Linked DNA regions of Homo sapiens: all the other regions are linked to region 2. The links are contacts of gene promoters, found by promoter capture Hi-C in blood cells and fetal thymus (Javierre and others, 2016). All regions are on one chromosome and are shown on one strand. The core of a region is centred on a gene start or on the middle of the fragment in contact, and the rest is flanking DNA. Distances in the headings are between cores, read along the strand shown.

Region 1 (5,296 bases), core at 26-2,525, 300 kb before region 2:
TTCTCTGAGTTCCTTCTGCGCTCGCTGATGTGTTTGGGATGGTCGCACCCTTTGCATCAGGGACCGAGGAAGAAGCTGCAGGTCATTTTGTTGTCTTGACCCAATGATTTACTGGAACAGCCTGGTTTCTTTCAAACCTTAGGCCCTGGTGTTCATGGATAAAACTGGCCATTTTCCCCTCTTTATCTCCTGTAGGAGACCAGAGCCCTTCATTTACTTCACCCCACCACCTCACCTCCAGGGAAGGGGATCCCAGCCCCAATTTAGCCCTGGGGCACCCTAGAATTGCCTCAGCATTGAGACCTTGACCTTCCCCTTTCTTTATTTCTGCTGTACCACGGGTTATATGTCCCAGGAAGGGAGGTCCCTCTCAAACTTGCTGTTAGCAAGACCTGCATTGCTGACCGTGCAAGCTGAAGAAGGCGGCACAGTCTCCTTAGGTTGGGCCCATGGGCCACCTTAGAGGAGTTGGAGGGGTGGGCCTTGCCGGAAGAGCCAGGGCAAGGATGGATCCATGGATGGAGGTGTCCCCTCAGCAATTTGGAGATTGTGCAACTGCAGCTGCCAGGGCAGTGTCTCCTTGCCCTGCTAGGGTATGGAGGGAAGGCACGTAAGAGGTAGAAAACAAAGCTAGGCACAGGCAGCCAGGCTTCTCTCTGCCAGAACCAGCTTCTGGATGTGGAAAGGGGTCACCCTGACAGGTCTTTCCAGCTGGTTGGAGGCTCCTGGGCCAGCGCCTGAGCTGAGAGGCAGTCAGGGCCCTAGTAAGTTTCCCCAAGGTTGTTGGATACAATGTAGAAAGTTGAAGTTTTCCTCTCCTATTTTCTCCCCATGTCTCCCACCCCATTTCCCCTCCCCTCCCTCCAGTCATCCTTCCACTGCCTGTGTTTCTAATCTTCAGTTTTGTCCCTCGTTTTTGTAGATTATGATTTTGGAGATGTGTTTCCAGCAGTGCCGTCTGTACCCAGCACAGACTGGGAAGGTGGGCCAGAGTCCGCTGTTACCCTCTTTTCCTGTTTTGCAATGTTTCCATGCCAAGCTTGCTGCATGTATCAAATCAGCTCCTTATTATTTATAATAATATCCATAATCATAATAAAGCCAAGTTTGGTGTTCTAATAGATGGAATTCTGCAGTGGGAAAACTCAACCTCTAGCCATAGGCAAATCCCTTCTCCCAGTGCAGGGCTCCTGCCTTTGCTCAGTGGCCTTTCGGAGTCACTAAGTGGCTGCATTTCGGGGGATACAGGGTCACCCTTCCTGATTCCAGTGCCAGCTGATGCTCTCGGGGTGTGTAGGGCCTGACCCAGTGAACCAAGACTTGTTCTGGAAAACCATGCCTTTAAACATGCGGGTTGTAAGCTCCTGCGGGTCAGATGAGCATCGAAGAGAAAGAGCTTGATTCTTTCAGTCTGTTCCTAATGGCTTCCTCTTGGGTGTTTTGGAGTGGTTGAGGTCCAAGTCAGGAAACTGCCCAGGTACAGCTGAAACTTCCTACAGACAGAATCTCTTTGAAGCTTTAAAGCAGATTAAAAGGAAATCTGCCAGCCCTCCCACCCTGTCTGCTGGGCAGTAGCAGTGCCTGGGCATTTTTCTGCCTGAAATTCCACTTCATAAATTCACAAAGCTATTCCCAGGTTGCCACGATTACTCAAAGCAAAGGCTATGTTGCCAATAAGGTGAATGTTTCCCCCTTAAATCTGAGGCCATAGCAGATCCCTGTTATTTTACTTTATGTTATTTTATTTTACTTTTTGAGACGGAGTCTCGCTCTGTTGCTCAGGCTGGAGTGCAGTGGTGTGATCTTGGCTTACTGTAACCTCCACCTCCCGGGTTCAAGCAATTCTCCTGCCTCAGCCTCCCAAGTAGCTGGGATTACAGGTGTGTGCCACCACGCCCGGCTAATTTTTGTATTTTTAGTAGAGACAGGGTTTCACCATGTTGGCCAGGCTGGTCTCAAACTCCTGACCTCAGGTGATCCACCCCACCTCATCCTCTCAAAGTGTGGGATTACAGGCATGAACCACTGCACCTGGTCCAAATCCCTGTTATTAAAGAGCCTCCTACCCTCTGGGCCACTTCCAGCCTGGAACAGGGGAGGTGAGGGAACCTGGCCTCTGAACAGGGGAGGTGAGAACTGCCACACCCTGAGGATGAGGGGCACGTGGCTCTCCCCGCATTATTAGAGACGTGATTGCTGAGTAATGGGTGACAGGTGATCCGTTCCCAGATAATGTGAGTATGAAATACCTTAACTCTGTGAGAAATAAGATGTGGCATTGGGAAAAATAAACTATGACACTTGGCCAAGAGTAGCATTGAAGGGTCCCCTGTTTGAGTTAAATTAGCTTGGATTCCAGAATTCCATCATAACATCATGTACCCTCTTAGCCCCTCTTCTTGCAGCACACATGCTGGATATTGTTTTTTTTTCCCTCCGATTCTAACAACTAACCCCCCTCCTGACACGCCTGCTGCAGTCACTTGACAAGCAGGGCCTGACCTTCCTCTACAGCCTTTCAGAGCTCCCTGCGGCCTGAGAACTAACAGCCCAGTTGCACTGCTTGCCTCAGGGCAGGGTGAGATTTCTGGAGTTCCTGGAGCAGGATTCCTGAGCTCACTCTGGCAGCTCACCCGGGGAGGCTCTGTCTTCTCCTTGGACCTGGAGGAAGGCAGGACTTGGGGCAGCTCCAAACTCTGAGCCTGGGGTGGCCTTCCCCTGGTCTTTGGCTTATTTACAGAGCTGGTGGGCATGCGGGCCTTGACACCCACCACATCTCATGATCTGCCCACTCACCTCTCAGGGCTCCTCTTGGGTGCAACTGCGTGTGCTGAGGAGAATCACAGGAGCCGGAGCAAGAACACATGGGCTTGGCAGGAGCCTGCTTTGGGACCGAGAGACGCGGTTTTCTGTATCTTAGAACTTAGGCTCTGAGATCCCCGGAAATCTGGAAAAAGTCCCCGATGTTGCTGGTCTTTTCTGGCAGAGCTACTCATTGCCTTTAGCCTCCTCTTTTGTCCTTATATTAAAAGACAGCAGACTTAAAAAAAAAAAAAAAGGGCCAGGCTCACACCTGTAATCCCAGCACTTTGAGAGGCTGAGGCTGGAGGATCGCCTGAGCCCAGGAGTTTGAGACCAACCTGGGCAACACAGGGGGACCCCGTCTCTACTAAAAATATAAAAATTAGCCAGGCTTGGTGGTGCACGCCTATAGTCCCAGCTACTCTGTGGGCTGAGGCAGGGCAGGAGGATCACTTGAACCCAGGAGGTCGAGGCTACAGTGAGCTGTGATTGCGCCACTGCGCTCCAGTCCGAGCGACACAGCGAGACCCTGTCTCAAAAAAAAAAAAAAAAAAAAAAAAAGGACGGTGTGCTGCATCAGCAGACAGCTGCCCTGTGGCTTCCAAGGGCACTAAGTTGACAGCTGGTTGGGCCCCCAGTGGGGCTGTGGGGTGCATGTTTGCCTCTTTTCTTCCGGGCAGACAGCGGCCAGCAAGATGAGCATTGGCCGGCAAATAGAGCACGACCAGCCATGGCCCTTGCCATTGACCCTCACCCAGGCAGTTTCACCAGCTGGGCCTCAGCTCTCTGCTTGGGTGGCTCCCATCTGCCACTGGCCGTATGGGCTGTGTGCTTCACCTGCCCGTGCTCCCTCTCCTGCCCTGTTCCAGTAACCAGGGGCAGATGGCTGGGTGGGGCGGGATGTCCAAGCCAGCTCCCCTCTCGGGGGCCGTGTCAGGGTATGAGTCAGAAAGGACCAGTCAGTGAGCTGACACTTGAATGAAATGGAGTTCTCGGCCGGGCACGGTGGCTCACGCCTGTAATCCCAGCATTTTGGGAGGCCGAGGCGGGCAGATCACGAGGTCAGGAGATCGAGACCATCCTGGCCAACATGGTGAAACCCCAGCTCTACTAAAAATACAAAAATTAGCTGGGCATGGTGGCGCATGCCTGTAATCCTAGCTACTCGGGAGGCTAAGGCAGGAGAATCACTTGAACCCGGGAGTTGGAGGTTGTAGTGAGCCGGGCTCGCGCCACTGCGCTTCAGCCTGGCGACAGAGAGAGACTCCGTCTCAAAAAAAAAAAAAAAGAAAGAAATGGAGTTCTCAGCACCACCCTTGCAGGGGCACCTGGTCCTGCCCCCGAGGAGTGTGTAGGGTCAGGGGTGCTGGGGAGAAGCAGCCTGGGGGGCGGCCTCTCGGACCCCTGTCTTTGCCCCTTCGCACCTTGCTCTCATTGCCCTGCTCTGTCATCTTGTCTCTACTCTGTGCTCTGGGCATTTCCCTCTGCCCCATGGTTCCCACCCCTTGGGCTCCCATCCTGTCTCCTAGCCTCTGCCCCCACTCTGCACCCCTCACTTTCTCTGCTGTCTTCCTCCATTCTTCTCCCTTTGTGTTCCTTTTACCTCTGCAAGGGACCCTTCAGAGGACTTTGGGCACCTCTCAGCCCTACAAGTGGGGTATGGGGCTAACGGGGCTGCTGGGTACCCCTGTAGCGTCCTGGCAGGAAGGCTCTGAGGGTAACCTAAGAGGCGTGCAGCCTGGCTCCTCTCTAGGGCTCCCAGCCACCCATGGAGGCCTCGAAGTCACCATTCCTATGGGACTTAAGCCTGGAGCTTGAGCCTGGAGGCTGCTTCACCGCGGGGGCCCTTAACACAAACTCAGCCAAATTGTTGTGAGCTCCGGAGGCCCCAGGGGTGGTGGAGATGGTGTTCCTTCCAAGTTGCTCCTAAAGTACAAAACCCCATGTCCTGTTAGGTTGTGGCTTCTACTCGAAATGGGGCCACCCCTGTCAGGTTTCCCTGGGAGGAACTGGCCAGCCTGCCTCCCTCCTGGGCTAACGCATGCTCTGGGGGTCGGGGACCCCGGGGGGTGCCTGACAGGGTGTCTCCTGCTTCCTTGTCCTCCCAGATGGAGACCTCACAGACACGGTCAGTGGTCCCCGCTCCACAGCCTCCGACCTGACCAGCAGCAAGGCCTCCACCAGGAGCCCCACCCAGCGCCAGAACCCCTTCAACGAGGAGCCGGCAGAGACTGTGTCCTCCTCTGACACCACCCCCGTGCACACCACCTCTCAGGAGAAGGAGGAGGCCCAGGCCCTGGACCCGCCGGATGCCTGCACGGAGCTCGAGGTCATCAGGTCAGCAGGGAGGGGCCCAGAAAGGAGCTGAGGTCCTGGGGTCCAACCTGTCCACTCCCAGCATCAGCTGTTCATCCAGGGCAGACCGGGACACCCCCTGAGGGCAGTTGCATGCCTTCCTGGAAACCCTTCCCACCTCTAGGAGGTTCTTTGAGCA
Region 2 (5,786 bases), core at 877-3,376:
ACAGGCCAAAGGCTCTGCAGGGACAGCGCAGGGGTGCTTCGCAGAGCTCCAGTAGCTCCAAGGAACAGGCCAGGGACATGGGGAAGAGGTGGGGCTTGGAGAGAGAGGAGGCTCCGTGGCAGTGGCTCCGAATCTGGGGCTCCTGGGGAACGTGGAGGTGACAGAGGAGAGCCGTGCCTTCCTGGATCCCCGGGCACATTGGGCATCTGCCCGCCAGGGCTGAGCGCCGGCCCCTCCCCCGCAACTCAGCCAGCACATAGTGTCCAGGGGAGTTTGGGGCGGCTGAGTCACTGTTGGGGGTGGCAGGGCTGGCACATGCTGCCTGTGGGTTTTGGTGCCCCCAGTCCATGGCATCCCTGGCAGGGACGCCCAGAAATCCACCCTTGAATGTGGAGGGGAAGAAGCCAGTCCTTGGGGGCTTAGGAGGAGGCTTGGGTCAGGTCCTCTCCTCTCTCCTGGCAGCCGTGGCTGTCCCTGGGCAACGCCCCTGTTCAGGCCTGGCCATACCCTCTCCAGGGTGGAGGCCCCAGTGCCTCCTAGAAGTTCGGACTCAGACACGCTAGAGACCCAGTGACCCTGAGACCTGTGGGCGGGCGCTGTGTGTGGTTTGGAGTGTGTGTGACCCGAAACTGCAGGGCCCCTGCCCAGCCTCGGGCCTAATTTAGGGGTCCCAAGATGGGGGATGGGTCTCCAGCTGTGGGAGGGAAGAGGGCTTGAGGTGGGTCACATGGAGAAACCCCTCCCCCCACTGCCCAGGTGAGTTCCCCACCTACCCGCATCCGCCCCCCTATAGCTACCAGAGGAGCTGTCCTCACTCTGCCATCACCATCTCACACCTGTCATCTCCCACCCTCAAGCCCCACCCCCTCAGGCTCCCTCTGCCCACATCCCTCCATCCCTCTCCCATTCCTCGGAGGCTCCCTCAGCTGCTCAGGCCCTGGAAGAAAGGATCTGGGAACCTCGGTGCAAAGAGAGGCAGTGAGGGGGCCCCATGGCCATGGGTTGCAGGGACAAGGCCTTCAGTTAGCCCTGGGGGAGTTTGGGTGGGGAAGGGACACTGGCCAGGGTCTGGGGTCCCAGGATGGTAAGGGGGAGTAGGAGACATTGGAGGCAGGAGCAGAATTTGGGATGCGGTGAGTAGGGGGTGGGGGGCTCACCTTCTCAGCCCGCACCTCGATGTGGTTGTTGGAGGTGGTGACAATGATGTCTTCAGGTGAGAAGTCTCTCACGTCCACCGCAAACTCATAGGCGTCTCCTAGGGTCTTGATGTTGCCTGCCCCACCGGGGCGGGCTGTGGGATGGGCTGCTGTGAGCGAGGCATGGAGCAGGCCTTGCATGCAGATCCGGGGGTTCTGGCTCCTTCTCTTGGGGCAAGGGGCGGCTCCCCCAGGCCCTACCTCCCCCCTAGCTGTTTCTCCCTAAGCTCCTCCTCATTCCTACAGCCCACCTTTTCTGGGGTGGGGGTGGGGCCTCACCCAGCACAGTGTGTGTGTATATGAGGCTAGGTCTGTAACAACCCCACCCCAGGCCTGGAGCCTGGGGGCTGCCCCCCACCGCTCACCCATCCAGCCCTCCAGGGCTCCAGCTGGGATTGGCTGTGGTTACAGAGCATGGGTGGCCATGGAACCATGTCCAACCCCCAGGGCCACAACTGTTCCTTAGAGGCCCACCTGTTTTCATGGCCACATCTGTCCCTGTGGCCACATCTGTCTTGGTGGCCACACATGGCTGCAGGCTGTGCAGCACCTGTTCCAGGCCGACCGGCAGCCACAGCGCCTTCGGTGGCGCCCTGGAGCAGACGTCCCCTCCCTGTGCACCTCCCCTCCCCTCAGGGCCCGGATCACTTGCCTGGGAAGGCCAGGGGCTCCGAGTGGGGCCGCATGAAGCTGCCAAAGTCATCGGAAAACATGCTCAGGGCCTTCTCCATGGGCGGGTCCTGGGCCGGGAGAGCACGGGAGGCCGAGGAGGAGGTGGAAGAGGAGGAGGAAGAGGAAGAGGAATGGAAACTTCTCTCCGCTCGGAAGGTGGAAGAGGTTCTGTGGCTCATCCACGGACGGCGCCGGGCCCTGCCCAGGCGGGCGAGGGCTGGACAGGAGAGGGTGTGGGCGCAGGCCTCTGGGCGAGCGTGCCAGGCTCCGACTGCGGCCGCTTTATAAGGCCGACTGTCCCTGGGCTTGGGGCCAGCCCCTTGTCTACTAGCTAAATTTAGGCCTCTCCATGGCCCAGAGGGGGCTGGAAATCTTCTCCCGTGCGCCGGCCCTGCTGACAGCCCGACACGCAGGCCGAGAGGGCTGAGCTCACAGCCTGACATTCCAGGCTGATCACAGCAGCCCCAGGGGCCTCCTCACCACTGCACAGGGCTGGATCCTGTCTCCTTGCCACTCGGACCTCGGTGCCTGCCCCAGAACCTTGCAAGTTTGGGGTTTATTGTGTGTTTTGTTTCCCCCGTCAGCCTGGGGGCTCCTGAGGACTGTGCCTCCCCTCCAGACTCTGGTTCTCCTCCACGGCTGTACCTCCTCCATCAGTGTGCAGGCTCCTTGGGGACAGGGTAGGTGGAAGCACCACCGCTCTGTGACGTCAGGAGCTCCTTCCCTCAAGGCAGACAACCTTCACAGCCCATCTCTAAGGAAAGGTTGAGCCCTGCCAGGGGGTGTAAAATGTGCAGCTGTCCCCTGCCAGCCCCCATGGGGACCTGGATTCTGTGCCTGCACTCCCTCTGACTCTCAGAACATTCAGCAGCCCCAAGAGGACAAAGTTGGCAGCTTTCTCCTTAAAGGTCTAGAAGGTTGTGTTCCCGGCAACTGTCTGCTCCATCTCTGTGTCAGAGGTGATGCCTGCGAGCGCCTTAGGTGGGATTTCAGTCAGAGGTAAAAGAGAATTCCGGAAGACAATTATTCTAGCCCTGAGTTCTAGAATGCCTTCTGGGCATGGGCTCCTGGCTGCAAGCTGTCCAGCACGGCCCCGTTTGATCCCCACACAGCTGGGAGGGTGGAGGGGCTCTTCCCATGTTACGGACGGGGAAGCGAAGCCTCTTGGAAAGGGCGGGGCTCGCAGTTGCGTAAGTGGCAGAGCTGGGATTCGAACCTAGATGTGTTGGACCCAAAGCCCTTCAGAGGCCGAGGTGGTTTGAACATGTGCCTATGGAGACAGGCTGGCCCGGAAGAGCCAGAGAAGCCCCTCCCTACCCACCTGCTTGCTCAGCAAAGCTGGGACTGACCTTGCCCTGGGCCAGGGTGGAGGCCATTCTGAGAGGCGGCCAGGCCCTCTGCTCTGCCCAGGTTGCAGTTAAGGGCCTCTGCTGTCCTCTCCAAATCCGTCCCTTCCGTCCCAGATCAGCTCCAATGCCTCCTCCCCCAGGGAGGCCTCTCTGACTGCTCCTGCTCACATGGGCCCACACCCAGTCCAGATGCCCCCAGCACTGACTGTCTTTGTCCTCCCACAGCACCTGGCAGTGTGACATAGTCTTCCTGTGTGCTGTGACTCTCTGCTGTGTCCCTTCTTCCCTATCCAACTGGCAGTTCCCACGGGGGCGAGGGTTCACCTGTCTCCCCATTAGATTGAAGGTTCTTGAAGACGGGCAGTTTCTCTTTTGTCTGAGCCCCCTACAACCCAGTCTGGAGCTTCATCCTGGAGAGCTCCTTCTACAGGGGTATTAGCGGTGCTGGTGGTATGTGGAGTGGAAGCAGAGCAGGGCACAGGGCACAGCGGCGGGCCAGGCTGTTGCCTGGAGCAACAGGGCCTGTTGCCTCTGGCAGAGTTTCCTGCCCGTGTCGGGGCCTGTGACACCCAGCCTGGCTGAGGGGTTTCTAGGGCAGCTGGGAAGCCACCAGCACTGAGGTGAGATGGAGAGAGGGTGGGGCGGGGTGGGGGGCCCAGAGCCTGCCGCTCGCCAGGGAAACAGGAGCCGGTGGCTAAATGCAGACACACTGTCATGGTGCTGAGGGCCTGAGTCACTGCCCCTGGATGTCAGATCCCGTTACCCACCCCCGCCCACCATTCCTCCTCCCCTTTTTCCCCCTTCCCGAGGCATCACCCACACAAATACTGGATCCTCTGGCTTCACTGACCCAGAGGGACCTCAAAAGGTCATCAAGGACATTCCCCTGCCTCTACCTTCAGATCACAGAGACAGAAGGAGCTACAAAGATGATGCAGTCCTTTGAATCCCAGTCACCCAGGAGAGCTTTTCACAAACACAGACCCTTTCCTTGGACCCCAGGATTTTGATTTGGGATCTGGGGAAGGGACCTCACATCTCTTCCCATCAGCTCCCCACACAGCCAGCTCATAGGCCAGTGATGAAGCCCTCATCACTCAGTAGGTATTCATTGAAACCTTGCTATAAATAGGTGCTGGGCACTGTTCTAGGCTCTGAAGGACTCAGAGATGAATAAGGCAGAGACAGGCCCCTGCTTCCAGGCTCACCTCATCATACAGAAGAGGAAACTGAGGCTCTAGTTGATGAAAGAGTTAGGGTCAGCAGAGCTGTGCTGGCTTCAAACCGGTCATCCTGCTGAGCCACCCTGGCTGCCCTCTTCTCAGCCTCCTGGTGCACACAGGGCTGGGGGGTGAGGGTAGATGTGGACGTGCAGTGCTGGCTGTGGGACAGTAGCCAGCAGCTGCCCCAGACCAGACACTGGAAATCGGGATGTTGACAGGGCAGCCAGTTCTGGTGCTGTGCAGAGTCAACAGGTCGGGGTGGCCAAGGTGAAGGTGGGCTCGAGTCCATACAGAGCGGCAACTCCCATCCCACCTCCCACAACACACATCTTTGATTTTGATTTGACTTGCCTGGCATCTAGGGGCAAAGGGTGGCCCAGGGTCCCAGATTTTAACAATCATCCAAGGGCTATCATAAGCTTCAGAGGGTGGCTTTGTCTGGGTGGGAGTGGAGGCAATTGTCCCCAACCTCTTGCCCAAAAGTGGCATCAGACACAACTCTTCTGTTCTGTGCCCAAACCATTGCCCTGGTTCAGCCTCAGGAGCTGGAGGAGCTTTGGGCAGGGGAAGAGCTGCACAGTGTGGGGCTGGGTTCAGCCTCTGCTGTGTGACCTTGGATGAGTGACTCACCTCTCTGACCATCTACAAAATGGCGAGGCTCTCCCCATTCACAGGGTGTGGGAAGGAGGACTTGAGCTGCAGATGTGACGCTCCTGACACGTCGCAGGCACACGGCAGGTGCTTGTTCCTCGCCATGTCCCCTCACACCTGTGCTGCCATCCTCTGTTGGGGTGGGACAAACTCTGTGGAATTACCCAGAAGTCCCCACCAGAGCCGCTGGCCCTTGGACGTGTGCTTTGAGAAGCATTTCCTGAGCCTGGAGGGTCTGGACACAGGATCAAGTCCGAGTTCCTGACCCCAATTCACTGCCTTGCCCCAGGTGTCGGCCTCCTCGCCAGCCCTGGACAAGATGGGTCATCAGGATGGGACCGTGTGGCACAGCCTGCGGGCTTTGGAGCCAGGCAAACCTGGGCTGGGAATCCTGGCTCTGCCTCGGCCTCCGTGATCTTAGACAGGCAGCCCCAGCTCCCTGAGACACCATTTCTCTACAACGGGATCACGCTGCCTGCCTCGTGGGATTTCCGTGGGCACTCAGGGTAATTAATCTGGGAGAAGGCTGACTCTCTACCTGACACACAGGGAGGCTGTGGTCATGCTGGCCCCACTCACCATTGCCCCCCTGCCTTCTCCTTCCCTTCCCAGCCTCCTCCCCTCTCCCTCTGTGCTTTTTCAAACCTTCCATGTCCAGCTCTGAGACCCCTGGACCCTGAGTCTCAGCCTTGGCA
Region 3 (5,663 bases), core at 2,333-4,832, 390 kb before region 2:
GTAGAAATGTTACATCATGAGTTTAAGCATTCTCTTTTTCTATCTGAGGTCCAAAAAGGCTTCAGGATAGTCCCAGACTTGAGACAAGTTTGTTTGTTTTTTGATTTTTTAGTTTATTTAAAATCCTTAATAGTGCAAGGATTGTGCTATAATTCTGATCACTGTGGAATTGCTTAGTGTACTGTCATTTATAACATTAAGCACAGTTATCCTTAAGAAAAGTATTCAGTTGTTCAGACAAGTTTGACCATCAACTATATTTTTTGGAGTTGAAGGAATGTCGATTGACTCAGGCCTAGCCCCTCATTCTGGCTCTCCTTGTTTACTTTTCTCTTTTTCATTTTTCTTTTTTAAATAACAGTTTTATTGAGATAGAATTCATGCATTTAAATGATTTTTTTTTACTATATTCATGAGTTGTGTAACCATCACCACAATCCATTTTAGCGTATTTTCATTACCTTAAAAAGAAATCCTATACCCATTTATAGTCATTTCCCATTTCCCCCTAGTCTCCGCAGCCTAGACAACTACAAGTCTACTTTCTGTCTCTATGTATTTACCTATTTGGAACATTTCATATAAATGGGGTCATACAATATGTGAGTCCGTTGTGTAAGGATTAAAATTCCCTTTTATCTTCCTTTCATTTTAGTAAGGTCAGTTCCACCTGGCATATAGAACCTGGGAGTTGTAGCTTCTAAACTGTGGTAGCTTTTGGTGTATTCAGCACTGAGAACCTATGCAAGTCCCTTTTCTTCTTTCTTTTCTATAAAATGATGACACTGTTTAGCTCCCCAAGGGCATGAGAAGAGTTAGCAGAGATGCACAGATTAAAGTATAAATTCAGAGAACTATTAAGAACTTCCCTGAGCCAATACGTTTAGCACTGACTTGCAGAATTTAGCATCTAATATTTATGCTGCTCACTTGACATATATAATATCCTTTGATCCGGCCGGGCACAGTGGCTCACACTTATAATCCCAGCACTTTGGGAGGCTGAGGTGGGTGGATCACCTGAGGTCAGGATTTCGAGACCAGCCTGGCCAACATGGTGAAATCCCATCTCTACTAAAAATACAAAAAATTAGCTGGGCGTAGTGGCACACGCCTGTAATCCCAGCTACTCGGGAGGCTGAGGCAGGAGAATCACTTGAACCCAGGAGGCAGAGGTTGCAGTGAGGCAAGATCGTGCCATTGCACTCCAATCTGGGCAACAAGGCAAGACTCCGTGTCAAAAAAAAAAAAAAAAAATTCTTTAATCCAAGCGTCAAGGCTGTTTGAACCATATGTCAGACCAGAGTAGGATTTTTCTCAAGAACAACATCCAGACTTATGCAATTATATTTATTGAAACTAGCTTTAATTTTTTTTTTTTTTTTTCTTTTGAGATGAAGTTTCGCTCTTGTTGCCTGGGCTGGAGTGCAATGGCGCCATCTCGGCTCACTGCAACCTCCACCTCCCGGGTTCAGGTGATTCTTCTGCCTCAGCCTCCTGCGTAGCTGGGATTACAGGTGACTGCGACCACGCCCAGCTAATTTTTGTATATTTAGTAGAGACAGAGTTTCACTATGTTGACCAGGCTGGTCTTGAACTTCTGACCTCAGGTGATCCAGCCACCTTGACCTCCCAAAGTGCTGGGATTACAGGTGTGAGCCACCACGCCTGGCCACTTTAATGATTTAAAAACATAAATTAAAAACCTGATGTCTATTGTGAGATATTTTATAAGCTAAAAATTTGGAGTTACTACCATCACCTTCCCCCTATTTTTCTTCTTCTATCGATTCACTCTCAGCCGGCAGTCTTTATATTCAGAGTCATCATGAGAAAGAACAAGGTTAAAGTCTACAGTTACCTTTGCTGCTGTCATATACCATGTATGAGCAAGTGTTCTGCTGTTTCCTTCAAGTGCTTGTTTTTGTAGAGTAATTTGAGTAAACTGAATTGATTTTCCCCAACAGACTTACCCCGAATAGATTTCAGTAGTATAGCTGTGCCTGGCACATCAAGTCCCCGGCAGCGCCAGCCACCAGGAACACAGCAGTCCCACTCATCTCCTGGAGAAATAACTTCATCTCCTCAGGGCTTGGACAATCCAGCCTTGCTCCGAGATATGTTGCTGGCCAACCCGCATGAGCTGTCCTTGCTGAAGGAACGCAATCCACCCCTGGCAGAAGCTCTGCTCAGTGGAGACCTTGGTAAGCTTATAAATTTGGAAGGCTATTAGGCTGGCCTGAGGTGAAGAAGCTGTGTCATAGCAAATGTGAAGAGACTCAAGCGACACTGTGTCACATGATTTATTGAACATACCAGTTTTTTCTCTGTGAGAGGTAAATTAGTGCTAAAGTCAAAGGCTGAGTTACTTGGAAACAGCAATAGAGTTTTAGCAGTGAAATCCATCTAGGCCACCCCCCTTGGTTTACTTTTTGTTTTCCTCATTGTTTTTGGCAGCAGATAACCTAGGTACTGATTTTTGTTTGTTTCTTTGTTTTTTCTTTGAGACGGAGTCTTGCTCTTTCGCCCAGGCTGGAGTGTAGTGGTGCAATCTTGGCTCACTGCCAGCTCCGCCTCCCGGGTTCATGCCATTCTCCTGCCTCAGCCTCCCAAGTAGCTGGGACTACAGGCGCATGCTGCCACACCTGGCTAATTTTTTGTATTTTTATTAGAGACGGGGTTTCACCGTGTTAGCCAGGATGGTCTCGATCTCCTGACCTCGTGATCCGCCTGCCTCGGCCTCCCAAAGTGCTGGGATTACAGGTGTGAGCCACCATGCCCAGCCAGTACCGATATTTTAACCTTAGTTAGATCTTCAATTAAAGAGATCATCAACAAGCCAGCTGATGCCAGCTGATGCCAGGAAGGTTCAGTGCCCTGTATGGCAAAATGGAATCACCATAACCTCAGTCCACTCCAAGTTATTTTTTGTATTTTTTGTAGAGATGGAGTTTTGCCATGTTGTCCAGGCTGCTTTCGAATTCTTGGGCTCAAGCAGTCTGCCTGCCTTGGCCTCCCAAAGTGCTGGGATTACAGGCATGAGCAGTTGCACCCAGCTAACTTGTAGCCATCTTTATGAATCGAGTTTTCTCTGTAAATTACTCTCATTTTACTCTTGGGTTTATGAGTTAAATTGGGTTAAGTCTAAAAACATAACAGACACTTAATGACTCATTCCTCAATTGACTGTCTTTAAATTGGCAATCTTTACCTTAAGCGAAGTACTCAGATTTTAAATATACAATTCCTTGAGTTTTGACAAACTCCTGTAACCCCAATCAAGACACAGGACATTTCTCTCACTCCAGAAAGTTCCACTGTGTTGCTTTCTAGTCAATCTCCTCTCCTTATAGGTTACTACTGTTTTGATAATCTTATGGTTTAGTTTCCCGTATTTTTAAACTTCATGTATATGGAATAATAGAGTGTCTGCTCTTTCGTGTTAGGCTTTGTTTTTTTTTTTCTTGAGACGGAGTTTCACTCTGTCTCCCAGGCTGGAGTGCAGTGGCGCGATCTCTGCTCACTGCAACCTTCGCCTCCTGGGTTCAAGCGATTCTCCCGCCTCAGTGTCCCAAGTAGCTGGGACTACAGGCGTGCACCACCACACCCGGCTAATTTTTGTATTATTAGTAGAGATTGGGTTTCACCATGTTGGCCAGGCTGGTCTCAAACTCCTGACCTCGTGATCCACCCGTCTCGGCTTCCCAAAGTACTGAGATTACAGGCGTGAGCCACCACTCCCAGCTCGTGTTAGGCTTTTCACTCAACTTAATGCTTTTTAGATCCATCTGTATTGTGTGCATTAGTAGTTCAGATAACCATTGTCATAATATCTTTTAATCTCTTATATCAGCATATCTAATCACCAAAGATGGTGATGATGGGGCATTTAAGTTTGCACACTTAAATGTACCACCATTTAAGAAATTGCAAAATAGGCCGGGCACGGTGGATCACCTGAGGTCAGGAGTTCAAGACCAGCCTGGCCAACATGGTGAAACCCAGTCTCTACTAATAATACAAAAATTAGCTGGACGTGGTGGCAGGTACCTGTAATCCCAGCTACTTGGGAGGCTGAGGCAGGAGAATCACTTGAACCTGGGAGGTGGAGGTTGTAGTGAGCCAAGATTGCGCCATTGCTCCCCAGCCTGGGCAACAAGAGCGAAACTCCATCTCAAAAAAAAAGAAATTGCAAAATAGGTTCTTGTTGTAACATACATCTTATAGCAAGCAGTGTTTTCTCTACTAATTTTCCTGCCTATTAATTCATCAGAACACACACAAAATATAGGTAGACTAAAAATAGTTTATACTTAATGTATCTGGCTTAAGGCAGGGCATGTTATAAAAGAAATGAAACTAGAAGAGGAAAAGGAGATTATATAATGCTGTATTTTGTTTCTAGGTAGTAGGATAATGAGAACAATGAGGAATGGAGGAGTGGAGACATTGATCTGCCACATGGTCACTCCCCACCATTTTAAATTGGAAAGTTGTTACCTCTGAGTAGAAACAATATGATAGATAACTTCTTATAAAAAATTTTTGCAAATACTTTTTTTTTTTTTTTTTTTAAAAAAAAAAAAACAGGGTCTCACCATGTCACCCAGGCTGGAGTGTGTGGTGCGATCACAGCTCACTGCATCCTCGACCTCCTGGGCTCAGGCCATCCCCCCACCCTTGAACCCCCATCCAACAGTAGCTGGGACTACAGGCATGCACCACCACGCCCAACTAATTTTTATATTTTTTGTAGAGACAAGGTCTTGCTATGTTGCCCAGGCTGGTCTCGAACTCCTAGGCTCAAACGGTCCTCCCACCTCAGCCTCCCAAAGTGTCGAGATTATAGGCATGAGCTACCACACCCAGCCACAAATACTTTCTTTACACTGAATTTAAATGATGAAATAGCCTTGACTCAGAGAACAGAAAGTAAATGTAATTGCTCATTTTAAATAAGCTTTAGGCATCCTCTCTGCATCTCTTACAGATGTAGTTTGATAAATTGTTTGGTGTGGAAAAGTACTGATAAACGTTGAAAATATAGTGATATTTAAGATTTTTCTCCCTTATTTTTGTAGAGAAATTTTCTAGAGTCCTGGTGGAGCAGCAGCAGGACCGAGCCCGGAGAGAGCAAGAAAGGATTCGTCTGTTTTCTGCTGATCCCTTTGACCTTGAAGCTCAGGCAAAGATAGAAGAAGATATAAGGTAAAGACCTGTTCATCTAAAGAACAAAACTTAGAGACTCCAGATTTCCCAGACTGCAGGTTATCTGACATTGGTTGGGCATCTGCTTGGAGGTAGCTTCTCTGTTTTGCAGTTGAGATAGTAACCTCAGTCTTTTAGGTTAGTCTCTCCTCTTTCATTTTCTATGCATTTCGATTTGACATGACAAAGATATAGGTGCTTAGTTTAATGACTTTCTTTCTAAAATTTTAAGGAGGACTCCCTGACTAGCAGACAGAGCATCATAACACAGCTTTAGATAAATGACCCCCGGACTGAGCAGAAGCCACCATCTGGTGAGACCACAAGGCTGGTTGCATATTACATGGGCTGATTTGACTCTCTTTCTTTAGACATATTGTATAAGTCCTGATTAAATCCAGGGCTTAAACATGATTGGATTAGAGAGGGCTCTGCGCCGATGGAACGTTGGTAGT
Region 4 (5,862 bases), core at 2,954-5,453, 430 kb before region 2:
GCCTGTAATCCCGGCTACTCTGGAGGCTGAGGCAGGAGAATCACTTGAACCCAGGAAGCGGAGGTTGCGGTGAGCCAAGATCGCGCCACTGCACTCCAGCCTAGGCAACAAGGGTGAAACTCCATCTCAAAAAATAAAATAAAATAAATAAATAAATAGCTTGAGCCTAGAAGTTTGAGACCAGCCTGGGCAACACAGCAAGACCACGTCTCTAAAAAATAAAAATAAAAATAGACCAGGCGCAGTGGCTCACACCTTGGGAGGCCAAGACAAGCAGATCGCCTGAGCCCAGGAATTCAAGGTCCACCTGGGTAATACATTAAGACCCCGTCTTTGCAAAAAATACAAAAATTAGCTGGGCATGGTGACAAACGCCTGTAGACCCAGCTACTCGGGAGGCTGGAGTGGAAGGATCACCTGAGCCCAGGGAGGGCAAGGTTGCAGCGAGCCATGTCGGCACCACTGCACTCCAGCCTGGGTGACAGAGTGAGACCGTGTCTCAAAAATAAATAAATAAAAGAGGAAATTAGACAAGTTAAGAGCTACTCTAGGAATTGCCTTTTCACAGTATTCTAGGAAAATGCCTAGAATAGCTCTGTTCAATAGAACCTTCTATGATGATGACAATGTTCTATCTGCACTGGCCCATATGGTAGCCACTATCCACATGTGACACACATGTGACATACATGTAGCTAATATGACTTAAGAAACTGAATATTTTATTTTAATTAATTTGAATTTAGGCCGGGCGTGGTGGCTCACGCCTGTAATCCCAGCATTTTGGGAAGCTGAGGCGGCGGATCACCTGAGGTCAGGAGTTCGAGACCAGCCTTGCCAACATGTTGAAACCCTATTTCTACTAAAAATGCAACAAATTAGCTGGGCGTGGTGGCACGCGCCTGTAATCCCAGCTATTCAGGAGGCTGAGGCAGGAGAATCACTTGGACCCAGGAGGCGGAGGTTGCCGTGAGCCAAGCGGGACAACAAGAGCAAAACTCTGTCTCAAAAAAAAAAAGAATTTAAGTAGCCACATGTGGCTAGTGGCTACCTTACTGGACAGCACAGACCTAGGAAAGTATTCTTTCTGATAATAATAACAGTTAACATTTATTGAAGCTTCAGATATGCCATGCATAGGTCGGGCGCAATGGCTCACGCCTGTAATCCCAACACTTTGGAAGGCCGAGGTGGGCAGATCACCTGAGGTCAGGAGTTCGAGACCAGCCTGACCAATATGATGAAACCCCGTCTCTACTAAAAATATAAAAATTAGCCGGGCATGCTGGCGGGCGCCTATAATCCCAGCTATTCAGGAGGCTGAGACAGAATTGCTTGAACCCGGGAGGCGGAGGTTGCAGTGAGCCGAGATCGTGCCATTGCACTCCAGCCTGGGCAACAAGAGTGAAATTCTGTCTCAAAAAAAAAGAAAAAAAAAAAAGATATGCCATGCTTGATGCTGGGCATTTCATGTGCACTTTCATTATATGCCCCTCACATCATGCAGTGAGTAGGTGTTACTGTGATCATTCCCATCTTACAGGTGAGGGTGTGAAGCATCAAGCACGGTATACAGCAACATTGCTAGGGAGAAGTGCAGCTGAGACTTCAAACCATGCCATCGGGAAACCACACTCCTCCCACTATGCCATGCAGGCTAGGCTCTCTAACTTGGCAAAAATGAATTTGGATATTTAGGAAAAGATCCCTGTCATTTTAAGTATTTGTGAACAAGAGAAAAAGTGAGAGTGGGTCAGGGGTGAGGATAAGGGGAAAGCTGCCCTATAGGTTGATGTAGACCCTGAGCAGGACAAAAACACCCTCTTTGCAGTTCTCCTCGCAAATAAAGTCATTAGAAACATCATCTTGGCCAGGCGCGGTGGCTCATGCCTGTAACCCCAGCACTTTGGGAGGCCAAGGTGGGCGGATCACTTGAGGTCAGGAGTTCAAGACCAGCCTGGCCAACATGGCAAAACCCCGACTCTACCAAAAATACAAAAATTAGCCAGGCATGGTGGTGGGCGCCTGTAATCCCAGCTACTTGGGAGGCTGAGGCAGGAGAATTGCTTGAACCCAGGAAGTGGAGGTTGCAATGTGCCGAGATTGCACCACTGCACTCCAGTCTGGGTAACAGAGTGAGACTGTCTCACACACACACATACACACACACGTGAAATATTCTCTCCCCAGGGATTAAAATAAATGAATTACAATGCTCTCTTTCCTACTGTCTGCACATTTGCAGTGGCTTGCAGGGGAGAAGTAGCTGTACTCAAGCCCCTGAGTACAGGATAAGTAAACCCTGAGTGCAGGGAACTACTCTGGCTCTTGCAGACTGACATTACCCAAGGTCAGAGGAATACAGCCAGCTGCTACAATTTTCTCATAGGCCTCTTGAATTCGCCGGCAGCTGTCCTGAAGGTTGTAAAGATTGACATTCACATCGCCTAGGTCTGCAACCATGAGGGACTGGAAGGGGAGGGCCCCCGTGCTAGGATTGACTGTCCCAAGCATCACTGATTCTTCCCGGATGCGGCGAGGTCCGAATCTGCAGAAGGAAGAATCATCCTGTCAGCCATCATCTGCAGAGATTTCAGGCTTTGCTTAGGCCAGGGCTTCTCAGCCTCAGCAATTTGGGGCCAGATGATTCCGTGTCGCGGCATTGCATAATGGAATGCTTAGCAGCATCCCGGCCTGTACTCACTAGGTGCCAGTAGCACCCTTCCTCCAAGGTGTAACAACCCAAAACGCCTCCAGATACTGCCAAATGTCCCCGGAGTGCAAAACCGCCCCACTTGAGAATCACCGATCTAGGCTATGTATCGAAGAGACTAAATAAGTGTACTAAATGGCATTAGTGAATTTCATGATCTACCTGAGTCTCAGTTTCCTAATTTGTAAAATATTTACCTTGCACTGTAGTAAAAATTAAATGAGGTAATCTATGCAAAGCACCTTGCACTTAGGAGACATTTAATAAGTGCTGGCTTTCATAATTCAGATCAGTACGGTCAGATATAGTGTTGCTGAGCTGAATCAGAAATTGCTGACGTTCAATAACTAGGAAGATGAATTTTGCTTCCTCCGACTTGATCCTAGGAAAATTGCCTTCATTTGAGCATTTCTTGAGTCAGGTGACATCTTCAGATTTGGGGAAGGGGCAGCCAGTTTCTGCTCTCAAATGCAATGTCACCTGCCACTGTAAGCTGGGGAGAGGAGAGGGGAGGAATCCACAGCAGCCATCCCAGCAAGGCCCCAGGATGGGGACACAGAGAAGGTTCAGGCTCCAGAATCCCTTCTTTTTTCTTTTTTTGAGACGGAGTCTCACTCTGTTGCCCAGGCTGGAGCGCAGTGGCGCAATCTCAGCTCACTGCAACCTCCGTCTCCCGGGTTCAAGCGATTCTCCTGCCTCAGCCTCCCGAGTAGCTGGGATTACAGGCCCGCGCCACCATGCCCGGCTTTTTTTTTCTTTTTTTTGTACCTTTGTAGAGACAGAGTTTCACCATGTTGGTCAGGATGGTCTCGAACTCCTGACCTCGTGATCCGCCCGCCTCAGCCTCCCAAAGTGCTGGGATTACAGGCATGAGCCACCGGGCCGGCCAAAATCCCTTCTTGACCAATGATGACACTAAGATGTGGGAGGCCACGCCCATGTTGAGCCCTGGGGTTTGCTTATTGAGGGTCCAGGTAAATCAACCATCTCAAACCATAAGGGGCATTTTGGAGCCGGCCACCAGCTTCCAACTCGACCCGGGGCCAGCAGGGGCGCCTGTCTCGGTGCTTTCCATGCCCGACAGCCAGCAAGCAGTCCCTCCACGTGTACCCGGCCCCCGTCCTTCCGGCCTTACCTCGCCCCAGGCCGGTTGGAGGTCCCAGTATCCAGGGGCACCCCGATGAAGGCAGCGTCCAGCCCCTCGGGGGAGGTCTGCACCGGCAGGCGCATCATGGAGCAGACGCCCACCGGCCGGGCCACGAACTCGGGGCTGGGGGGCTGGTTCCGGGGCGCGTCGGAAGCCTGGCGGCTCTGGCGGCGCCCCGGATGAAAGAGCCCTGCGGCAGGACGCGCGCCCACGCCGGGCCCCGGGCCCCGGGCGCACCCGGACGCCAGCAGCCTCAGCATTGCCGCGCGCGGCCAAGACCTCACCGACCAAACCGCCCGCGAGGCCGCCGCGATCTGGCTGGTCCCGAACGGCGAGGCGAGTGTGCACGCGCCAGAGCCGGAACCCGAGCCGGCTCAAAGGTCAGGGGCGCCCTAGGATCAAGGCGGGGGAGGGGCCCCAGGACCTGCCGTGCTCTCCCCTCAACCCCTCTGGACTTCAGCCTCTGGCAAATAGAGTCAGGCTGGGGGTGCCCACTGGCCGGCACTGTGCCAGGGGTGTCTGCGCCCTGCTCCCCACTGTGGCCTTCAGCAGCCTCTTCTCCCATTCAGAGTAATTGTTTGTTTTTATAGAGACGGTCTCACTGTGTTGCCCAGACTGGTCTCCAACTTCTGGACTCAAGTGATTCTCCCACCTTGGCCTCCCAAAGTGCTGGGATTACAGGTGTGAGCCACAGCAGCCACCCCAGAGTAATATTTTTAAAGCCAGAAAGATATGAAGGAAAATGATCTTTCTCTAAGCCAGAAAAATAGGAAATGCATTTTTTTAAATAATGTATTTTTAAATGTCCAGGGATAGGAATCTCAAGAAGCAGTAAAGTTAGTTAGCTACTTAGCTAGCTAGCTAGTTATTTTGAGACAGGGTCTTGCTGTGTTGCTCAGGCTGGAGTGCAGTGGCACAATCATAGCTCACTGCAGCCTCAAACTGCTGGGCTCAAGCAATCGTCTCACCTCAGCCTCCCGAGTAGTTGGGACTACAAGCGTGAGCCATCGCGCCTGGCCAGTAAAGTCTTTTTAAATAACCTTGTTAAAAAAGGACTAGAGGCCAGGGGCGGTGGCTCACGCCTGTAATCCCAGCACTTTGGGAGGCTGAGGCGGGCGGATCACGAGGTCAGGAGATCGAGACCATCCTGGCTAACACGGTGAAACCCCATCTCTACTAAAAGTACAAAAATTTAGCCGGGCATGGTGGCAGGTGCCTGTAGTCCCAGCTACTTGGGAGGCTGAGGCAGGAGAATGGCATGAACCCGGGAGGCGGAGCTTGCAGTGAGCTGAGATCAGGCCACTGCACTCCAGCCTGGGCAACAGAGCAAGACTCCGTCTCAAAAATAAATAAATAAATAAATAAATAAATAAATAAATAAATAAAGGACTTACAGGCAAGCTGTAAGGAAGGTCACAGTGCCAGAGAACCTGTTACATCCTCTTTATTTCTAAGGGGAAAGAAAAACACACGTGGAAAGAAAGAAGTGATTTGTAATGGAATTATGTGAGCCATTTAGCAGTATTATATATATTATTTTTTCTGATCTCTAAATGTTGAGATTGAATGGAAAAGGCTCACATTTGCATTTACGTTGCAACCTCTACACAAAGGTTGCACATTAGGCCAGGCGCGGTGGCTCACACCTGTAATCCCAGCACTTTGGGAGGCCGAGGTGGGCGGATCATGAGGTCAGGAGATGAGACCATCTTGGCTAACATGGTGAAACCCCATCTCTACTAAAAATACAAAAAATTAGCCAGGCGTGGTGGTGGGCACCTGTAGTACCAGCTACTCGGGAGCCTGAGGCGGGAGAATGACGTGAACCCGGGAGGGTGGAGTTTGCAGTGAGCCAAGATCGCGCCACTGCACTCCAGCCTGGGCAACACAGCAAGACTCTGTCAAAAAAAAAAAAAAAGGTTGCACATTAAACCCCACACCACTCCAGCCTCCACTCTGGAGTGGAGCCTCCACTCTGCAGGTCGGGACAGAGTTTCCTAAT
Region 5 (5,170 bases), core at 122-2,621, 340 kb after region 2:
TCAATCACAGTCACGCACCACATAACAGTGGTCAATGGCAAACCACATGTACAATGGTGGTCACATAAGATTATAATACCATATTTTTACCGTACCTTTTCTATCTATATGTTTTGTTTTGTTTTTCTCAAGACAGAGTCTTGCTCTGTCGCCATGCTGGAGTGCTATGGCGTGATCTCGGCTCACTGCAACCTCCCCCTCCCGGGTTCAAGCGATTCTCCTGCCTCAGCCTCCCAAGTAGCTGGGATTACAGGTGTGTGCCACCACGCCCAGCTAATTTTTTGTATTTTTTGGTTTTTTATTTTATTTATTTATTTATTTATTTATTTATTTATTTATTTATTTATCTGAGACAGAGTCTTGCCCTATCAGCCAGGCTGGAGTGCAATGGCACAATCTCGGCTCACTGCAACCTCTGCCTCCTGGGTTCAAGCGATTCTACTGCCTTAGCCTCCCAAGTAGCTGGGGTTACAGGCACGCATCACCATGCCCAGCTAATGTTTTGTGTCTTTAGTAGAGACAGGGTTTCACCACGTTGGTCAGGCTGATCTCCAACTTCTGACCTCAGGTGATCCACCCGCCTCAGCCTCCCAAAGTGCTGGGATTACAGGCGTGAGCCACTGCGCCCAGCCAATTACTGTATTTTTAGTAGAGACAGGATTTCTCCATGTTGGCCAGGCTGGTCTTGAACTCCTGACCTCAGGTGATCCGCCCACCTTGCCTTGGCCTCCCAAGGTGCTGAAATTGTGCTGGGATTACAGGTGTGAGCCACTGTGTACAGCCCAGAACATAATTTATTCTTTTGTTTTCTTTTTTTTTTTGAGATGGAGTCTCCCTCTGTCGCCCAGGCTGGAGTGCAGTGGCACAATCTCGGCTCACTGCAAGCTCCACCTCCTGGGTTCATGCCATTCTCCTGCCTCAGCCTCCTGAGGGACTACAGGTGCGTGCCACCACGACTGGCTGTTTTTGTATTTTGAGTAGAGATGGGGTTTCACCATGTTAGCCAGGATGGTCTCGATCTCCTGACCTCGTGATCCGCCCGCCTCAGCCTCCCAAAGTGCTAGGATTACAGACATGAGCCACCACGCCCGGCCCAATTTATTGTTTTTTTGAGACAGAGTCTCGCTCTGTCTTTCAGGCTGGAGTGCAGTGGCATGATCTCGGCTCACTGCAACCTCAGCCTCCCAGGTTCCGGCCATTCTCCTACCTCAGCCTCCAAGTAGCTGGGATTTACAGGTATGCGCCACCACGCCTGGCTAATTTTTGTATTTTTAGTAGAGACAGGGTTTCACGGCGTTGGCCAGGCTGGTCTCGAACTCTTGACATCAGGTGATCTGCCTGCCTCGGCCTCCCAGAGTGGTGGGATTAAAGGCATGAGCCACCACACCTGGCCAGAACATAGTTTATTCTTAAAGGGTTGGGGTGCATGACTTAACCCTTGCTTGGTATGACCTTATGTCCTGTTTATAATTGGCATCTTGGTCGCACGCGGTGGCTCACGTCTGTAATCCCAGCATTTTGGGAGGTTGAGGCAGGAGGATCACTAGCTCAGGAGTTTGAGACCAGCATGGCCAACATGGTGAAACCCCATCTCTACTCAAAATACAAAAATTAGCCGGGCGTGGTGTTGCCAGCCTGTAATCCCAACTACTCAGGAGGCTGAGGCAGGAGCATCTCTTGAACCTGGGAAGTGGAGGTTGCAGTGAGCCGAGATCGAGCCACTGCACTCCAGCCTGGGCAACAGAGAGAGACTGTGTCTCAAAAAAAAAAAAAAAAAAGCATCTTATTACCACAAAGCATTTGTTGTGTCAGTCTTATGATCTCTATTTTAGCATTAATGCTGGTCAATTGTTGTGTCTAAACTGTGAAAGGGATAGGGTATAACCAAGTGTGTCTGACTTCCTGTTCCATCATGGCTTCTCTGGGGTCCCCTGTACCAAAAGGGTGTCCATTTAGTCCGTTGGAAGGTTTAGGATTTTATTTTTAGTTCTCATGTGAGATCACTCAGTATCAGTGCATTTAGGACAATATAAATGTTATTAACAGTTGCATTCTATTCTTTTATAGGAATGTACCATAGTCTTTTAAAACAAATTCTCTAGCGATGAACATTTAATTTGTTTCCAGTCTTTTTTGATTATAGACAAAATAGCAATGGATATCCTTAGGTATGCACATTTTCTTTTTGTTTGTTTGTTTGTTTGTTTTGAGACTGAGTCTGGCTCTATCACCCGGGCTGGAGTTCAGTGGCATGATCTCGGCTCACTGCAACCTCTGTCTCCAGGCTTTATGCGATTCTCCTGCCTCGGCCTCCTGTGTACCTGGGATTACAGGTGCGTGCCACCACGCCCAGCTAATTTTTGTATTTTTATTTTTATTTATTTATTTATTTTTGAGATGGTGTTTCGCTCTTGTTGCCCAGGCTGGAGTGCAATGGAGCGATCTTGGCTCACTGCAACCTCCATCTCCAGGGTTCAAGCAATTCTCCTGCCCCAGCCTCCCGAGTAGCTGGGGTTACAGGCGCCTGCTGCCACGCCCAGCTAATTTTATGTATTTTTAGTAGAGATAGGGTTTCACTATGTTGGCCAGGCTGGTCACCAACTCCTGGCCTCAGGCAATCCACCCGCCTTGGCCTCCCAAAGTGCTGGGATTACAGGCATGAGCCACCGTGCCCGGCCTTATTTTTATTTTTTTATTTTTTATTTTTTTTATTTTTATTTTTTGAGATGGAGTCTGTTACCCAGGCTAGCGCAGTGGCTTTATCTTGGCTCACTGCAACCTCCACCTGCCAGGTTCAAGCAGTTCTCCTGCCTCAGCCTCCTGAGTAGCTGGGATTACAGGTGCGCATCACCATGCCCGGCTAACTTTTTGTATTTTTAGTAGAGATGAGGTTTCACCATGCTGGCCAGGCTGATCTTGAACTCCTGACCTCATGATCTGCCTGCCTCAGCCTTCCAAAGTGCTGGGATTACAGACATGAGCCACTGCACCAGACCTAATTTTTGTATTTTTAGTAGGGGTGGGATTTCACCATGTTGGCCAGGCTGGTCTCGAACTCTTGACCTCAGGTGATCCACCTGCCTTGGCCTCCCAAAGTGCCGGGATTACAGGTGTGAGCCACCATGCCCAGCCTGCACATTTTCAATATTGGTAAGTTGCCATTTACTCATCACAACTATCTACCTAGCTTCAGCTTGTGCGTCAGATAGAAAGTTATCTCGGCCGGGCGAGGTGGCTCACGCCTGTAATCCCAGCACTTTGGGAGGCCGAGGCGGGCAGATCACCTGAGGTCGGGAGTTCGAGACCAGCCTGACCAACATGGAGAAACTCCATTTCTACTAAAAATACAAAATTAGCCGGGTATGGTGGCGCATGCCTGTAATCCCAGCTACTCGGGAGGCTGAGGCAGGAGAATCGCTTGAACCCGCGAGGCGGAGGTTGTGGTGAGCTGAGATCATGCCATTGCACTCCAACCTGGGCAACAAGAGCGAAAATTTGTCAAAAAAAAAAAAAAAAAAAAAAAAGCTGGGCGCAGTGGCTCATGGCTGTAATCCTAGCACTTTGGGAGGCTGACGCGGGCAGATCACAAGGTCAGGACTTTGAGACCAGCCTGGCCAATATGGTGAAATCCCGTCTTTACTAAAAATACAAAAATTAGCCAGGCGTGGTGGCACGTGCCTGTAGTCCCAGCTACTCAGGAGGCTGAGGCAGAAGAATTGCTTGAACCTGGGAGGCAGAGGTTGCAGTGAGCTGAGATCACGCCATTGCACTCCAGCGTGGGCAACAGAGCAAGACAAGACACCGTCTCAAAAAAAAAAAAAAAAAAAAAGTGGACTCTCTGTCTCAGGAAAAAAAAAAGTCACCTGAGGTCAGGAGTTTGAGACCAGCCTGGCCAAGATGGAGAAACTGTCTCCACTAATAATACAATACACCGGGCTGGGCACGGTGGCTCAAACCTGTAATCCCAGCACTTCGGGAGGCCGAGGCGGGTGGATCACCTGAGGTTAGGAATTTGAGACCAGCCTGGCCAGCATGGTGATACCCGGTCTCTACTAAAAATACAAAAATTAGCCAGGCTTGGTGGCAGGCGCCTGTAATCCTAGCTACTTGGGAAGCTGAGGCAGGAGAATCGCTTGAACCCGGGAGGCAGAGCTTGTGGTGAGCCGAGATCACACCATTGCACTCCAGCCTGGGCAACAAAGCAAGATTCTGTCAAAAAAAAAAAATTAGCTGGGTATGGTGGCCCAGGCCTCTAATCTCAGCTACTCAGAAGGCTGAGGCAGGAGAATCGCTTGAATCCGGAGGATACAGTGAGCCAAGATCACGCCATTGCACTCCAACCTGGGTGACAAGAGAGAATCTCCATCTCCAAAAAAAAAAAAAAAATGCAAAAACTTAGCTGGGTGTGGTGGCACACACCTATAGTCCCAGCTACTCAGTACTCAGGAGGCTGAAGCAGGAGGGTCACTTGTGCTTGGAAGGTGGAGGTTGCAGTGAGCCATGATTGTGCCACTGTACTCCAGCCTGGTGACCGAGTGAGAGCAGAAAGAGTGAGAGAGAGAGAGAAAGACTCATGCTTTAGGGCCTCTGACAATACCTGTGTATTGTGTGCCTCAACTTTTTTTTTTTTTTTGAGACAAAGTCTCACCCTATCGGCCAGGGTGGAGTGCAATGGCATGATCTCAGCTCACTGCAACCTCCGCCTCCCAGGTTCAAGCGATTCTCCTGCCTCAGCCTCCCTAGTAGCTGAGACTACAGGCGCGTGCCATCACGCCCAGCTAATTTTTGAATTTTTAGTAGAGAAGGGGTTTCACCACGTTCAGGATGGTCTTGATCTTTTGACCTCATCTTCCACCTGCCTCGGCCTCTCAAAGTGCTGGGATTACAGGCGTGAGTCACGGTGCCAGGCCGCCACTGCCTCAACTTTTTGGGCTTATCCCTGGAAGAAGAAACTGCCACTACTTTTTCAATTTTAGAGCTAATTTGGTTCCATCCCTGATTTTACAGATGAGGAATCAGACTGAGAGAGAAGAGACTTGCCCAAGGTCACAAGGGGTCTATGTGATTAACTAAGACTGACCTCCTGGTTACCCATTTTGTGGAACAAAAACTATTTCATTTGCAGCATTTTCAGATGATTTCCAAGGTCTCCATCTTTCTTGTCTCCTTG

The links. The method cuts DNA at HindIII sites, captures the fragments that hold promoters and counts their contacts. A CHiCAGO score of 5 or more calls a contact.
Region 1: a contact is called between a fragment that was not itself captured here and the fragment with the promoter of HSPB7 in region 2, in 1 of 17 cell types (erythroblasts). The highest score is 5.3, in erythroblasts.
Region 3: a contact is called between a fragment that was not itself captured here and the fragment with the promoter of HSPB7 in region 2, in 1 of 17 cell types (total B cells). The highest score is 5.4, in total B cells.
Region 4: the fragment with the promoter of AGMAT here is called in contact with the fragment with the promoter of HSPB7 in region 2 in 2 of 17 cell types (erythroblasts and M2 macrophages); the score reaches 7.0 in erythroblasts.
Region 5: a fragment that was not itself captured here is called in contact with the fragment with the promoter of HSPB7 in region 2 in 1 of 17 cell types (endothelial precursors); the score reaches 6.1 in endothelial precursors.

Annotation. Positions count from the first base shown.
Region 1 is chr1:15,720,407-15,725,702 of GRCh38, forward strand. PLEKHM2 (pleckstrin homology and RUN domain containing M2) reads left to right here. Exons shown (of 20, transcript NM_015164.4): 7 at 923-982; 8 at 4,911-5,139. Among named protein-coding and RNA genes, the nearest start is that of SLC25A34, 13 kb to the right of the region's middle. RefSeq lists a silencer at 4,122-4,398 and an enhancer at 4,918-5,296. The HindIII fragment of the contact is 477 bases long and covers 1,038-1,514 here.
Region 2 is chr1:16,015,917-16,021,702 of GRCh38, forward strand. It overlaps HSPB7 (heat shock protein family B (small) member 7), which reads right to left and starts at 2,127. Exons shown (of 3, transcript NM_014424.5): 1 at 1,849-2,127; 2 at 1,158-1,291. The coding sequence starts at 2,047. RefSeq lists enhancers at 929-1,675, 1,676-2,420. The HindIII fragment of the contact is 15,911 bases long and covers 1-4,857 here.
Region 3 is chr1:15,628,358-15,634,020 of GRCh38, forward strand. It overlaps DDI2 (DDI proteasomal shuttling factor 2), which reads left to right. Exons shown (of 10, transcript NM_032341.5): 3 at 1,968-2,204; 4 at 5,082-5,208. Among named protein-coding and RNA genes, the nearest start is that of DDI2, 14 kb to the left of the region's middle. The HindIII fragment of the contact is 2,751 bases long and covers 2,208-4,958 here.
Region 4 is chr1:15,580,848-15,586,709 of GRCh38, forward strand. It overlaps AGMAT (agmatinase (putative)), which reads right to left and starts at 4,204. Exons shown (of 7, transcript NM_024758.5): 1 at 3,849-4,204; 2 at 2,346-2,548. The coding sequence starts at 4,120. RefSeq lists an enhancer at 3,697-3,746 and a silencer at 3,857-4,186. The HindIII fragment of the contact is 7,120 bases long and covers 1,118-5,862 here.
Region 5 is chr1:16,358,292-16,363,461 of GRCh38, forward strand. No RefSeq gene overlaps it. Among named protein-coding and RNA genes, the nearest start is that of SZRD1, 6.4 kb to the right of the region's middle. RefSeq lists a silencer at 2,172-2,388 and an enhancer at 5,168-5,170. The HindIII fragment of the contact is 7,817 bases long and covers 1-5,170 here.